Regions from separate parts of the Homo sapiens genome. Here region 1 is linked to region 2. The links are contacts of gene promoters, found by promoter capture Hi-C in human tissues and cell types (Jung and others, 2019). All regions are on one chromosome and are shown on one strand. The core of a region is centred on a gene start or on the middle of the fragment in contact, and the rest is flanking DNA. Distances in the headings are between cores, read along the strand shown. Region 1 has its middle 650 kb from the start of NXPH1. Region 2 holds the start of NXPH1 (neurexophilin 1).

What was found. Contacts are between HindIII fragments. The study calls those that stand out against the background at their distance.
Region 1: a contact is called between a fragment that was not itself captured here and the fragment with the promoter of NXPH1 in region 2, in 1 of the 25 tissues and cell types used here (H1 embryonic stem cells).

Annotation. Positions count from the first base shown.
Region 1 is chr7:9,081,282-9,088,530 of GRCh38, reverse strand. No RefSeq gene overlaps it. Among named protein-coding and RNA genes, the nearest start is that of NXPH1, 650 kb to the right of the region's middle. The HindIII fragment of the contact is 3,780 bases long and covers 2,127-5,906 here.
Region 2 is chr7:8,429,117-8,435,935 of GRCh38, reverse strand. NXPH1 (neurexophilin 1) reads right to left here and starts at 2,327. Exons shown (of 3, transcript NM_152745.3): 1 at 1,181-2,327; 2 at 169-332. The coding sequence starts at 222. RefSeq lists enhancers at 120-667, 668-1,215, 1,216-1,763. The HindIII fragment of the contact is 8,604 bases long and covers 1-4,362 here.

The DNA.
Region 1 (7,249 bases), core at 2,767-5,266, 650 kb before region 2:
CCCTCACTCTTCCTGTATGGGAGGTTACAGTGAGAAATGGCCTTTGATTGGGAAGCAGGCCTTCACCAGACACAGATTCTGTGGCACCTCAACTTTGGATTTCCCAGCCTCCAGAACTGTGAGAAATAAATATTTATTGTTTGTAAGCCACCAAGTTTATGGTATATTTCTATAGAAACCTGAATGGACTAAAATAAGCCCCTTTTTTTTCCTTAAGGTCGCAGAAGAAGACTAGCCAAATCTATCAGAATTTACTATCTTGCTTGTTTAGCAATTTTCCATTGAAAAATTGTCCTTTCTATTTTAGCGCTTTCTATGTAATTGTTGTTGGTTTACCTCTTTATTATTTTAATGTTGAACCATCCTTGAAAAACCTGAAATAAATACTACTTGGTAGTGTTATATAATTCTTTTTATACATTTTCAGTTTCACTTGCTAATGTTTGGTTGAAAAATTTTTTCTTTGTGTTCATCTAACAGATCCCTCTATAATTTTTCTTTTTTTTGTTGTTTTTGTCTGGTTTTGGTATTAGGGTAATTCTGGCTTCACAGAATTAGTTAGGAAGTGTTCCTTCTGCTTCTAATTTTCTGGAAAAAAAGATTACACAATCATAATCTTTTTTTAATGTTCAGTGGAATTCACTAGTGAAACCATCCAAGCCTGGTGATTTCCATTTTTGGAAGGTTATTATCACTGATTCAAATTTTTTTTATACAGGAATATAATGTGTAATAGGCACATTAGGGTAAATGCAGTATCTGTCACCTCAAGCATTTATTATTGCTTTGTGTTACAAACATTCCAATTATACTTTTAGTTATTTTTAAATGTACAATAAATGATTGATGACTGTAATCACTCAGTGGTGCTATCAAATGCTAGATCTTATTCACTCTAATGATATTTTTGTACCTGTTAACCATTCCCACTTCTCCCCCACCTCCCCAATACCCTTCGCAGCCTTTGACAACAATAATTCTTCTAACACATATAGCCCTTTTCAAATTATTTATCCTCGTATTATTTTTGGTAGTTTGTGTTTTCAAGAAATTGGTACATTTAGTCTATATTAACAAATTTGAGAGTAGGGAGTTGTTCCTTTATTTCTTTAAAATTCTCTTAATACTTATTAGAACAGTGGTGATGGCTGCTATTTTATCTCTGATATTACAAATGTGTGTTTTCCCTATTTTTTCTTTTTGGTTAGGCTTTGTTATGGGCTGAATTGTGCCCCCAAAATTCATATGTTAAAGTTCTAATTCCTAGTACCTCAGCATGTGACTACAATTGGAAAGACAGCTCTGAAGAGGTGACTATGTTGAAATGAGGCCATCAGGACAGACCCTGATTTAATCTAATGCAAGTCCCTATAAGAAGGGAAAATTTGGACACATAAAGAGACAACAGGGTTCTGCACACAACAAGGAACATTTGTGTGAGCACACAGCAAGAAGGCAGCTATGTGCAAGTCGAGGAGAAAGGCCTCAGGAGGAACTAAAATTGCCTACTCTTTGATCCTGGACCTCTAGCCTCCACAACTATGAGAAAATAAATATCTATTGTTTAAGCTATCAGGCTTTGCTGTTTTGTTATACCATCCCCAGCAAACTAATACAGCCTGGCTACAGGTTTAGCAATTTTACTTCTTTATTTCCTTGATTTTTCTCTATTAATTTTCTGTTTTCAATTTCATTGATACGTGCCACAATTTTTAATTTTTTTCTGCTTAGTTTGAATTTAATTGACTCTTATTTCTAGTTTCCTAAAGTAGAAGCTTGGGTTATTGATTTTAGATCATTGTTTCCTAATATATGTATTCAATTCTATAAATTTCCCTGTAAGCACTGTTTTTCTGTATTCCATAAATTTTAAGTTGTGTTTTACTTTTATTTCAAAATATTTTTAATTTCTCTTTAGAATTCTTCTTTGACCCACATGATCTTTAAATGTGTGTTGTTTAATCTCCCGATATTTGGGATTTTTCAGATATTTTCAGTTATTAATTTTTAATTTGATTCCACTGTGATCTGAGAACATATTTTGTATAATTTTTATACTTTAAGTGTGTTAAGAGGTGTTTTATGGCCCAGAATATGATCTGTCTTGGAGAATGTTGCATATAGGTTTGAGAAAAATGTGTATTCTGCTGTTTGGGAATGAGGTATTATATAAATGTCAAACAGATCTAATTGATTAATGGTGTCATTCACTTCACTATATCCTTACTGATTATTTGCCTGTTAAATTTGTCAATTATTGATAAAGAGGTGTGAAACTCCAGATTTATCTATTTCTTCTTGCAGTTCTATATGTTGTCTCATGAATTTTGAACCTGTTTTTACATTCACACCTATTAAGGGTTGTCAGGTATTCTTGGAGAATCATCCCTTTGATCTTTATGTAATATCCCCTCTATCCCTAATAACTTTCCTTAATTTGAAATCTGCTCTGTCTGAAATTAATATGGTTATTCAAGCTTTCTTTAAAGATATGTCATGCTAACATAATCAATTTTAAAAATAGACTTTTTTTTAGAGAACTTTTAGGTTCACAGCAAAATTAAGCAGAAGTACAGAGATTTCCCATATAACACTGTCCTGACACACATAACCTTCCTTATTATTAATATCCCCTACGAGAGTGGCACACTTATTACATTTGATGAACCCGCATTGACACGAAATTATCACCTGAGTCTAGTTTACATTAGAATTCACTTTTGGTGTTCTACATTCTGTAAGTATAGACAAATATATAATTACACATACACCACTGTAATATAGAGAATAGTTTTACTGTGAAAATCTTCTGTACTTCACCTATTTATTCCTCCCTCCGCACTAAGTTCTAGCAACACCAATCATTGTAATGTCTCAATTTTATCTTTTCCAGAGTGTCATGTAGTTGGACTTACATAGTATGTATCTTTTTATGATTGGATTATTTCACATGATAATACATATTTAAGGTTTCTCCATGTTTTTTTCATGGCTTGGTATCTCTTTTTAGTGCTGAATAAAATTCCATTGTGTGGATGTACCTGAGTTATTTTAACTTAAAATATTCATCTATGGAAACGCATCTTATCTTGGTTACTTCTATGTTTTGACAATTATGAATAAAGATGTTATAATTATCTGTGCAGACTTTTGTGTGTATATACGTTATTTCCCACAAATTCATATATTTACTTCATTGTTAGTCAGTGGAGTACATACACACATATAGATGTCTCTGAGTCACCTTAAGTCACATAATTGCAAGGATACAAACACATGCTAGATCATCCCTGTGGCTGAGTGCCTCTGGGGAATACTCAAGTCCTACTGAGGCTTCTCTCTGTATCTTCTGGCTGCTCTGTCCAGTTCTCCCTGAGCCCACATTCCTACTCTCTTTCCCTTCCATTCTTCCACCATGGTGGCAAGGCAAGGAAGATCCAGTTGAGACAGATCGCAGGTGCACAGAAGACTGAAAAGGCCAGTGTCCACTACAGCTGCTCTGGCGTCCTTCCTTGGTTCACACATTATGTATCGCACCACTTCAAGGACACTGTTAACTCCTGGAAGGAAAGGCCCAGGGCTTCTACCTCCTTGGGCATGGAGATACAGTGGTCAGGAAGAGCAGCTCCTTGTCAGACTGCTTAGTGTGTGACAACTGTGAGGACTCAGGGGCTATAAGCAGGAACAGGACAAGCTTACAAACAAATAACTAAGACCCAATACAGTGCATGCTGGAGCAGAGATGTGCAGAACACTGTGGGAGCACAGGAAGGGGCAGGGCAGGACAGCATCCTCAGAGAGGACACTTACAGGCACTACCCTGTGCCATATTCTGTGTGAGGTGCTTCAACTCCACCTTATTTTATTCTCACAAAGGAGGAAGGTGAGTTCAAAGACAATACCCTTGAAAAGCCACTGAGCTGGGATTCAGCTCCAGATCTTTCTGGTTCTAAAATCTATCTATGCTTTTTCCCTTGTACAGGCTACCACCCGAGGGGACACCAGCTCTGGGACTCAAAAAATGGTAAAGAGACCTCCAGAATCAATGAATCACTTTCAGAGAAAAGAAAAGAAAAACTTTAAAAACACAAAGAAAAAAAATACCACATTTTCCCCAAATTTCACGTCATAACCAACTAGAAGTGCAAACGTAAGTGATGCTGGAAACAAGACTCTGGCAAGAAGGGCCTTCTGAGCAAGGTCAGCATCTCCTCCCAACAGCTCTTTCTCCCAACAATGCCAGGGGATCTTTCAAAATTGCCACTGCTGCTGCTAAGCTCCAGAAGAGAGGTTTCTGAACTTCAATGTCTTTATCATAGCTCACTCTCTGGGTTCTCAGATAGATATATATATATCAGGGTTGTCTTCATCTGAATGAAGCTGGAAACTCTGCCTGACAGCATGCTTATAATGCTCCTGGATGCCCTTGGTCGGCAGCTGCAGCGGCAAATGTCTGTAGAGCTGTAGCAGCCTCCAGACCAGCTCTGTCCCTGGTGGTAGCAGGATCATCTGCAAGATCGTCTGCGCCTGCTTCGTGAAACCACCTGCTATGTCTATATTTGAGTCATCCATAAAAATGCTTAATCAGATTAGAGCTAAGTACCCCACAGGGCATGGGCAGGAACAAGTTCAAACATCTATAAAAAGCACTTGATTGTACTGTTATCCAGTACTTCTCAATCTTCTCTACAAAACCTTGCTCTGTGCTTTTCTGAAACACAAGAACATCATATGCAGCTTCCCCCTGCCTCCACGGGGGACATCAGCCCTGGACACTGCCACACCAATTAGTGTATTTAAATTTTTAACTCATTTGGGTAAATAGTAATAAGCATGATTTCGGAATTACATATACGAGTATGTTTAGTTTGTGACAAACTGCCAAACTGTTTTCCAAAGTAGCTGTACCATTTTGCATTCCCAGCAGCAACGAATAAGAACTCCTGTTGCCCTACATCCTTGCGAGCATTCCATGTTGTCACGGTTCTGGGTTTTTGGCCATTCTAATAGGCACGTAGTGATATTTCATTGTTTGTTTTAATTTGGATTTCTCTGATGATATATGGTGTAGAGCAATTTTTCCTATGCTTATTTTACATCTCTCTATCTTTTTTGGTGAAGTGTCTGTTAAGGTGTTTGGCCCGTATTTTAATAGGGATGTTTTCGTATTGTTGAGATTTAGGTGATCTTTGTATATTTTGGGTAATTGTCCTTTACCAGGTATATCTTCTGTAAATATTTTCTTCCCGTCTATGCCTTATCTTTTCATTCTCTTGACAGTTTCTTTTACAGAGCATAATTTTTTAATTTTAACGAAGTCTAATTCATCATGGATCTTGCCTTTGGTGTTATTTCTAAAACTTCATCACAATACCAAAAATTTTCTCTGCTTATCATCTAGGAATTTTATTTTGCATTTTATATTTAGGTCTGTTATTAATTTTGACTTACTATTTTTGAAGGGTGTAAATGTCTTGTGTGCTGCCATCTATTATCTCATACATTCTGATCTGTTTTACATTAAATCTTCTGTATCTCTCTTTCTGAAATTTGAGTCAAAGTTCCAGGAGGTGTTATATTTATCTTTAATTCCTTCTTCACCATCAGACCCCTGCTTCCACCCTTGCCCAACCCCCACATCGTCTAATATTATTTTTCATAACTGAACTGTATTTTGGGTACAGGCTCTGACAAGTGCTTACTTATGCTACATTATTTAATTATAACAAGAATTCTATTTTTTTTAGATATTATTATCCCTGGGGCAAATAGAGTCCTAAAGTGGCCCCAATGATCCTCTCTCCCTAGTACTATTATCCTGAATAATTCATTTTCCTTTAATGTGGGTGGAAACTATGGCTTGCTTCTACGGATAGAATATGGCAAAAGTGAAAGGATTTTGCAGATGTAATTAAGGTCTCAGATCAATCAAATAGAAGATTATCCTGAGAAGACCTGACCTAAGTGAAATCTCTTAAAAAAAAAAAAAAAAAAAAAAGGACGGGGCTCTCCCTGAAGTTAAAGACTCTGCTTTTACTCTTTATGAATTCAAAAGGAATGTCAGGAAGCCTTCAGGCAGCAGCCAGAAGAAAGCTGGGGCCCTTTTCCATACAGCTGAAAGATAAAGAATCTGTTAGATACCTGAAGAGCTTAGAAGTGAGTGGCTCTCCAGATAAGAATGCAGGCAAGCTAACATTTTTTACAGCCTGTTACACTCTGAGCATAGACGAACCACCCATGCCATGCCTAGGCTCTTGACCCATGGAAATTGTTAGATAATAAATATATGTTGAAGTTGTAATAATATTGGTACAGTCATTCTAATTTATTTGTGTGTGAAAAATATGTGTCTGTGTTAAAATATGTAAGTAATGTCATGGCTACAATCCCAGCACTTCAGGAGGCCAAGGCGGGAAGATGACTTGAGATCAGGAGTTTGAGACCAACCTGGCCAACGTGGTAAAACGCTGTCTCTACTAAAAATACAAAAATTAGCTGGGCATGGTGGTGGGCACCTGTAATCCCAGCTAATTGGGAGGCTGAGGCAGGAGAATTTCTTGAACCTGGGAGGCAGAGGTTGCTGTGAGCTGAGATTGCCCCACTGCACTCCAGCCTAAGTGACAGAGGGAGGCTTTGTCTCAAAATAAATAATAAAATATGTAAGTAATAATTTTAGAGTCATTGGGAAATATTTCAACTCAAGAGAAAAAATATAAATATCAAATCAAAAACATAATGAAAAATTCCTAAATGTGAATTTAATTATTTTGTCTTAAAATAACAATAATACCTATTTCTTAGTTTTTTTCTGTTGAAAAATCCTAAACACAATGACCAACCTAGTAACAATGAGCATTGGTGTAATAACACTGGCGTCTCAATACCATATTCCATTAAAAGTAACCAGAGTTCCTTGGATAGATGGTTGATTCCAGGCATGAAATATGTAAGGTAAGCCTGCTCATTTTTTCATAGCAGAAACCAAAGCAGCTTCCAAAAATACTAGGATTCAGTCAAAAAGACTCAGGAGCCAACTTGAAGAAATCCCTTATGACCAAAACAGAAAAAAATTAAATATTCATTGAAAGAATCACTGCAGTGAGTTGAAACATGTTAAATATATTGCCATTTTAATGATCATATAGACAAAACCAAACAAGAACCTACTAATGGTCACATTTCAGAGATGTTTCAAACCCAGTGAAGTATTCTGAAAACACATCAAAGAGGAAATAATCATTCTATTATT
Region 2 (6,819 bases), core at 1,078-3,577:
GAAAATCCGCAGGAATCCAGAGACCAGCTTGCCAAAGTTGCTCCAACACAGCTGCTAGGAAGCTGCTCTCACTGAACTGGCGGCGTAACCCTTCTCCCGCGTGTCCCCAGTTTCCTTGCCTCCCGGCCGGGGTAAAAATGCGAAAGCCCCGAACCTTCCAAGACTTACCAAGTAGACGGTGGGCTGCAGGAGGAAAAGCACGTACCAGCACGCAGCCTGCATTCTCCCGCGTCTCAAACTTCCTTGGCGGTGCCTTCTTTGAGTCTTTGTTCCTTCAGAAACATAGATCCACCTGACATCCACTTTACAGAGCAAGGAGCGCTCTCAGCAGCCTAGATGCAAATAAAATTAGACATCCCATGACTACGCGGGCAAGGTTAGGCTTGACAATCAAGCGGGGAAAGGGGGTCGTAGCGGGGAGTGGGGGACCAAAAAAAAAAGGGAGGGAGGGTACGAAAAATTGAAAAGCGAGTAAATCCAGCGCCTGAGACCAGCAAGCGCGCGGTCCGCAGCTGGGGAGGCGGGCGGGCGGACGAGAGGGAGGGTGAGGGGCTCCTTGCCCCCTGCGCTCCTCGGGTGCGAGTTCCCAGGCGGCGGAGCACACTGAGCCGCGTGCAGGCTGGTTCGGAGCCCAGGCTTCTCCGGCAGCGAGACCTGCCCTTGTGTTGGGTGGCCCGGCGGCTCGGACTAAAGGCGGCGGCTGGTTCTTCGCCAGCCCTGGCAGTGCTCACACACGTACACACCAGCAGAGAGAGATAGAGGGGAAAGATAAAGGGAGAGAGAGAGATTGAGCGAGGGGGGCGCGGTGAGAGGAAGAGGTAGGTAGAACTGACCGCGATTAGGTGCTAGGTACCTCAACACGTTCGGTGAAGTGGGGGTGGGGAAAGAGAATGCAATTTGCATACAGGAAAGCAGGGATCAGTTTACCCATTCGAACCCCTGGCGCACACAGAGATACCCACGAATGCTCACAGTCACATCTCTAGCACTACTTTTTTCGAGCCAAAGGGTACAGCCGGTCGCTAACTTCTAGAGAAGAAGCCTCCTCCGAGCTGTGAGGGTCACCTGCCAGGCTTGTTCTCTTTCCTAACCAGCGCCCCTCCCTGCCGTCCCTTCCTCGTGCCCACCACCCCGCTCCCAGGTGTACCCTCCGGGAACAGCGGAGGCAAAGGGTACGTACCGCACAGGACTTGGGGCGAATCCTGCGAGAAGGGACCGCTCTGGGCAGGCTCCATGGAGAAGCTACTCGGGCCTGGCGTCTCCAGCGCCCCGGACGTGCCCTCCCAGGCGCTCCGTCTCCATGCTCGAGCGCAGACGGGTCCGGCTGCCTCGTCCAGCTTTGGCGGAGTCGCCGTCCCAGTGCCCGGGTCGCGCTCAGGATTGGTTCGCGGGAGCCAAGGCTTGGCACAGTTGGATTCACGGTGCAGGAAACTTAAGAGGCAAGAGAGGGAGGGAGCAGTAGAGGAGGAAAGAGAGGAAGACAGAAAGGGAGGGAGAGCAAGAGGGAGGGAGAGAGGGGAATGCGCCGGGCTGCTGCACCGGACGGACTGGGACTGCCAGCGCTGGCACCCGGACGAACAGTCCAGGACTCTCGGCTTCCCACAGCTGCCTGAGGATGGTGGAAATGACTTAAGGGGAGGAGACTGAGCAAGTCCTCTGGACTTGAAGTGGAGAGATAAGACACTGGCCTTTCGGAAGAAAAGAGAACCACACGGCAGACGAGAGCAGTCCGAGTTTCTGAGGGAGGGGTGGGGTGGCGAGAATCTGGAGCCTGCGGCACACGGAGCAGCTGTACCTCTACCCGCGACGCTGGGAAGCCCAGGAGCCGGTCCCCAGTGGAGTCCCGGGCGCTGTCCCTGGTGCTGCCCGGCCACCCGGGGACGCTCTGGAGCGCTTTGGGTTTCCGGCGGCCGCGGTGGTCGTGGTTTCTCCGCAGAGCCGCGGCTTGGCACGCCTACCTTCCTGACACGGACAATTACTTTGGCACGTGGGTGAATGATTCCTCAAAGACTAATTAGTACCCTGTGTAAACAGATCCGGCTCTCAGGCTCTCGCGGGCTGGGCCCACAGGGACAAGTGGCTCCCGCGGTGTCTTCGGTGGCCGCAGCGCCCCCTTCCCGGGGGGCGTAGGGAAGATCGCAAAGCCCAGGGGAGTGGCGGGAAGAGCAGCCGGGAGTCGCGTAGGGCGGGGAAGGGCGCGGGAGGGTGCAGGGCGCCCCTGCCGGCCTCGAGCGCCGACGCCGGGCGCCTCCGACCTGTGGCTGCCGGGCCGGAGGCGGGGGAGCCGCAGACTGCCAGCCATTCAGCTCGAGACAGCCGAGAGGACTGGGCGACCTTGGCCTCTGGACTCCTCGCCGCCGGCTGGGCTGAGCGTGAAGGGGGAGGAGGAGGACGGGGGATGCTTCGAGCCGTCACCACCTCCCTCGCTACTGACACCTCCCACTCAACCAGCGTCTCCCAGACTCGGCCTCTGTGCTCCGACTCTGGCTGTCTCTGTCTTTCTCAGTCTCTCCCTTACTGTCCCTATTTCTCAGTATCTTTCTCACTCCCTCTCTCTCTCTGTCTCCTTCTTCTGTCATTCTTGTGGTCTGCGTCTCTGTCCCTCAGCATCTTTCTGCCTTTTTCTGCCTTTCTGTGTGTCTCACTCAGGATTTCTGACTCTAGGTCTCTGTATCTCTGTGCCTCTACCGTGTCCCTGCCATTCCCCCTCAAACCCTGTTTTGTTTTTTGTTTTTTTTCCTCCACCCTTCCAGTGCACCACCACCAGAGCAGTTTCACCAGTCTCGGGAGACAGCCAGGACCAGCTTCTTCTGGTGCTGGTGGGGTTGCCAGTGCTCCTTGAGCTTGCCCAAATTCAGGGCACAAATCGGAACCCGGAAGAGGGTATCTCTTCCCCAACCTTGCCCATTGCATCTCCAAGCCTGCCCTTCACCAGAGCCTCTCCTGGGGTGATGCACATATCCATATCAATCTGTAGGAATTGTATGGAAATTTATCTCAGGAACCTGAGTTAGTGACATCAAAATCGAATTGTGATATTTAATGAGTCTGGAATGTCCTTTCCTCAAGTGTGGCTGTGGACACTCTGGCAGGTCTGGGCCTAGATACAATGTACACTCTAGACAATAGGTCCCAGGCTGAATTCCCCTGGATGATGGAGACCACCCCTCAAACAAGGCAGTGACAATCAGCAGAGCCACCCAGTCCTGCAGCAGAGGCAAGAGGAGCCCCACTGAGACCTTCCCCTGGAATCAGATCTCCAAAGACCTCCAAATTAGATCCCCACTGTAGAACATACCTACCAGCACTTTGAGGTCTACACTCTCCCTTCCAGCTAAAAATAACTCTTTAAAGAGCAAGCTCTTCTAATCTTAAAAGTTGTACTCTGCTGCTGTGACCTCCTGGAATTCATTGGGGCATATGCAGAATAAAGCAGTGAAGCACACCTTCTAACTGTGTCTCTGAAAATCCACTTCAGAAAAAACGCACATGTACATATAGCATAATTACAATGTTTTCTTGACTATTTTCACTTACCAGCTATTTCATTTTCTTAAAAACTTTAAACTTTAAAGAAGAAAAATTAAAGTATTGGGGCACCCGTATCTGAGGCCAAATGGTCAAAGCAGGGGCAAAAAAAGCTTTGTCTAATTCCATCCTCTAGGATTCATAAGGCTATCCTAAAATTGATTCCTATTTGTACAGGAGCTCCCAGGCCTCCCAGACTGGAGTGTAGAGCTGGAGCAAATGTTGCCTGCCTCTATCTGGATTCCCAGCTACAATGCTGTCAGAGCTGAACTTCTGTCTGACCTTTGGGAAAATGAGAAAGAATCCGGCTAGCTTTGGAATATACCAAGTTCTTTTCTAAACCTTACTTTAAAAACATTCTGCTTCTAGTGCCATTTAGCCTTAAAAAAATACTGCTTGTGAAATAGAAAGATGATCAGAGACCTTAAAATGTCTGTCTGAATGGGACTGATTATTTAAGAAAAGCACCACAGGCACCTAGTAATGGGAACAGGTTTGACACTTTGTTCTATGACACAGGATGCCAAAGAGCTTTTTCTGTTAATGACCTGAGATCTTCTGCCCAGACATTCAACCTTCGCTGGATCCTATGAGATACTTGGCCTGTGATATAAAACAGTGGCGGATTGTCATTTTTCATATTTCACAGGGGTCTTCATCTCCTATAATACTCAACCAGAAAAGGATACCGAGCCACCAAGTAACACAGAAAAATGTATCGTTTCTGCTAAACCACTCCAGTTTTAATAATATAATATTGGGGGAGAAGTGGACAAGAATGGTTCATTCACCCTCCTTTTTTCCTATCATTTGCTTTATAAAGAACAATGGAGCAATAAAAGCATGATTTTCTTACATTCTTCTGTTTCAAGTAGTATCCTACTCTAAAATGCACTCTTAGAATACATGAACAGTCAGCTTCATTGAGTGAGAACAAAAGTGTGATTACCTTAAGAAGTATAGTGTTTGTACCAATTTTTACTGACTTTACTCATGCTGAAAATTCTTTCAGAAATACTGTTTCCAAACTTTGTGTGCAATGCAACTTAATACAGATATAAACTTAGTATGAATGATAACCACTGTAAAACACAACCCTCTGCATCTGCTTTTCCCCATGTCTACCTGGTCCAACCTGAAATGAACAGTACGAGAAATAATATAGATCTTTGTCTCTAAGAAATATATTTTTAAAGGGTTAAAATGGGCTGCATCAAAAGAAAATAGTGAAATTAACTTTCCTGAAAGTTAAAACCAGAAGAAATTAAACTAGAATCTTCTGACATATACTGATAGTTCTGTTAAATGTAATTATCTATTTTGGTTTGGTTCATTTGTATGATTCTCTTTTTTGGCAGGGGAGAGGGAAGGGAGAGGTTTGAATTATCTTGGGGCTGGAGAGAAGAGAGACATAAAGAGAGAGGCTGAGTTCTACAAAATTTTGTCCTAAAATGAACCTGTCTTAAACACCTTAATATCATCATATTCTACCCAAAATCCAAGTAAAAACAGAGAACTATTGTTACAAAGCATCCAGCTGTGGTCTTGCTTAAGCTTCAGGCCAAATTACATCACTTTGTACATAGTACTGCATTGTACCTATTTTTTTTCCTAATAGTGATAGAAAACTTACAAAGACTGTATCACCCTCCTGCCCTTAATTCAGTATAACCTGGCATTTGCATGTTGTGTAGTCCTGGACAAGTGCCTAAATATTCACCTGGCCTCGGTACCCTCCTCTGTATAATGCAGAAGTAAGGTTACATGATGTTTTAAATGATTTCTAATTCTAAAGTTCCTTTATTTTACCTTTTATGATTAAATGCAGGTTTAAAAAATTTACCTGCTTCCCAAAAAACAATTGTGTACTGCATTATGATTTTCAAAGATATTAACAGTTTGAAAAAACATTCTTTTTTGGTGCATTTCAAAGATTTTTTAGTCAAGTGTGTTTATAGGTTTGAGCCAAAGATTTTTTCTGCATTTCTTCCCTGCTCCACCCTCATAACCTTTCTTCTAGGTCAGAGGTTGACTGTATTGAATTCATCATATTACTTTTTCATGTAAATTGTTCTGTACATGTTTTTAATGTCACTGATTTATGAGAATCTACACTCAAAGTGGCATCCTTATTATACTTATGAATATCGGTTAGAAAAGATCCAAAGCTATTTCCACTACTTTTGCAGAATTCTTTTTTTTTTTTTTTTTTTTTTTTTTGAGACGGAGTCTCGCTCTGTCGCCCAGGCTGGAGTGCAGTGGCGCGATCTGGGCTCACTGCAAGCTCCGCCTTCCAGGTTCATGCCGTTCTCCTGCCTCAGCCTCCCGAGTAACTGGGACTACAGGAGCCCGCCGCCACGCCTGGCTAATTTTTTGTATTTTTAATAGAGACGGGGTTTCACCATATTAGCCAGGATGGTCTCAGTCTCCTGATCTCGTGATCTGCCCCTCTTGGCCTCCCAGTGTGCTGGGATTACAGGCATGAGCCAACGCGCCTGGCCTTTAGCAGAATTCTTAAATGTCACTCAGGACTACTAAAAAAGCCCCTGGCCTCTCCACTCCCCCAACATATTTTGCTAGTGGAAGGAAGGATTATTTGCATAGTGATTTTTACCAGCCTGGAATATTTGGTATTTGAATGTGGTAGAACTCGGTTAATAACTATGAGGCATGTGTGCTAAATTACCTTTACAATAATGCTTTAATAACAAGGTCACTGGACTAGAGAGGAAAAATAGCCGTCAAGCTCTAGAATAAAAAAAAACTAAAGGGAATCAAAAAGCTTTATGTAGAAGGCATTTTCTTTTTTAAAGGTAATTTATATGCTCAGCCTTTGTATCCACATTTCATTTATTCTACTAGGTGAAGACAGAGGGTTCTCAAAGGTAGGGTAGTTTTAGTTATGCTCAAAAACTTTAAAAAGAGGATGAACATAATAAGAGAAATTGAAGGAAGCCAGCATTTAAAAGGCAGTTGAATGTAAAAGATGGAAAGATTGGGGTCATCGCCCGAAAATCATAATTAAAATTTTAAAAAATATTGTGACTAAACAAACCTTTGCATTATAATCTCATTACAGAAATTCTTTATGATGATTCCTCCAGAGATTATTAATTGACAGTTCCCTAAAACAGAATCATTAGAGACAGAGAACTTGATAACCAATGTTCTGTTAACAAAGCAAAATACAGTATCTGCTTTCAGCCAGAAAGAACACTGGGACTCTCAACCACGCAGGGATGGAAGAAATTGTTAAGGACAAAGGCTACAAGCTCTTTGGTTATCAGAAGC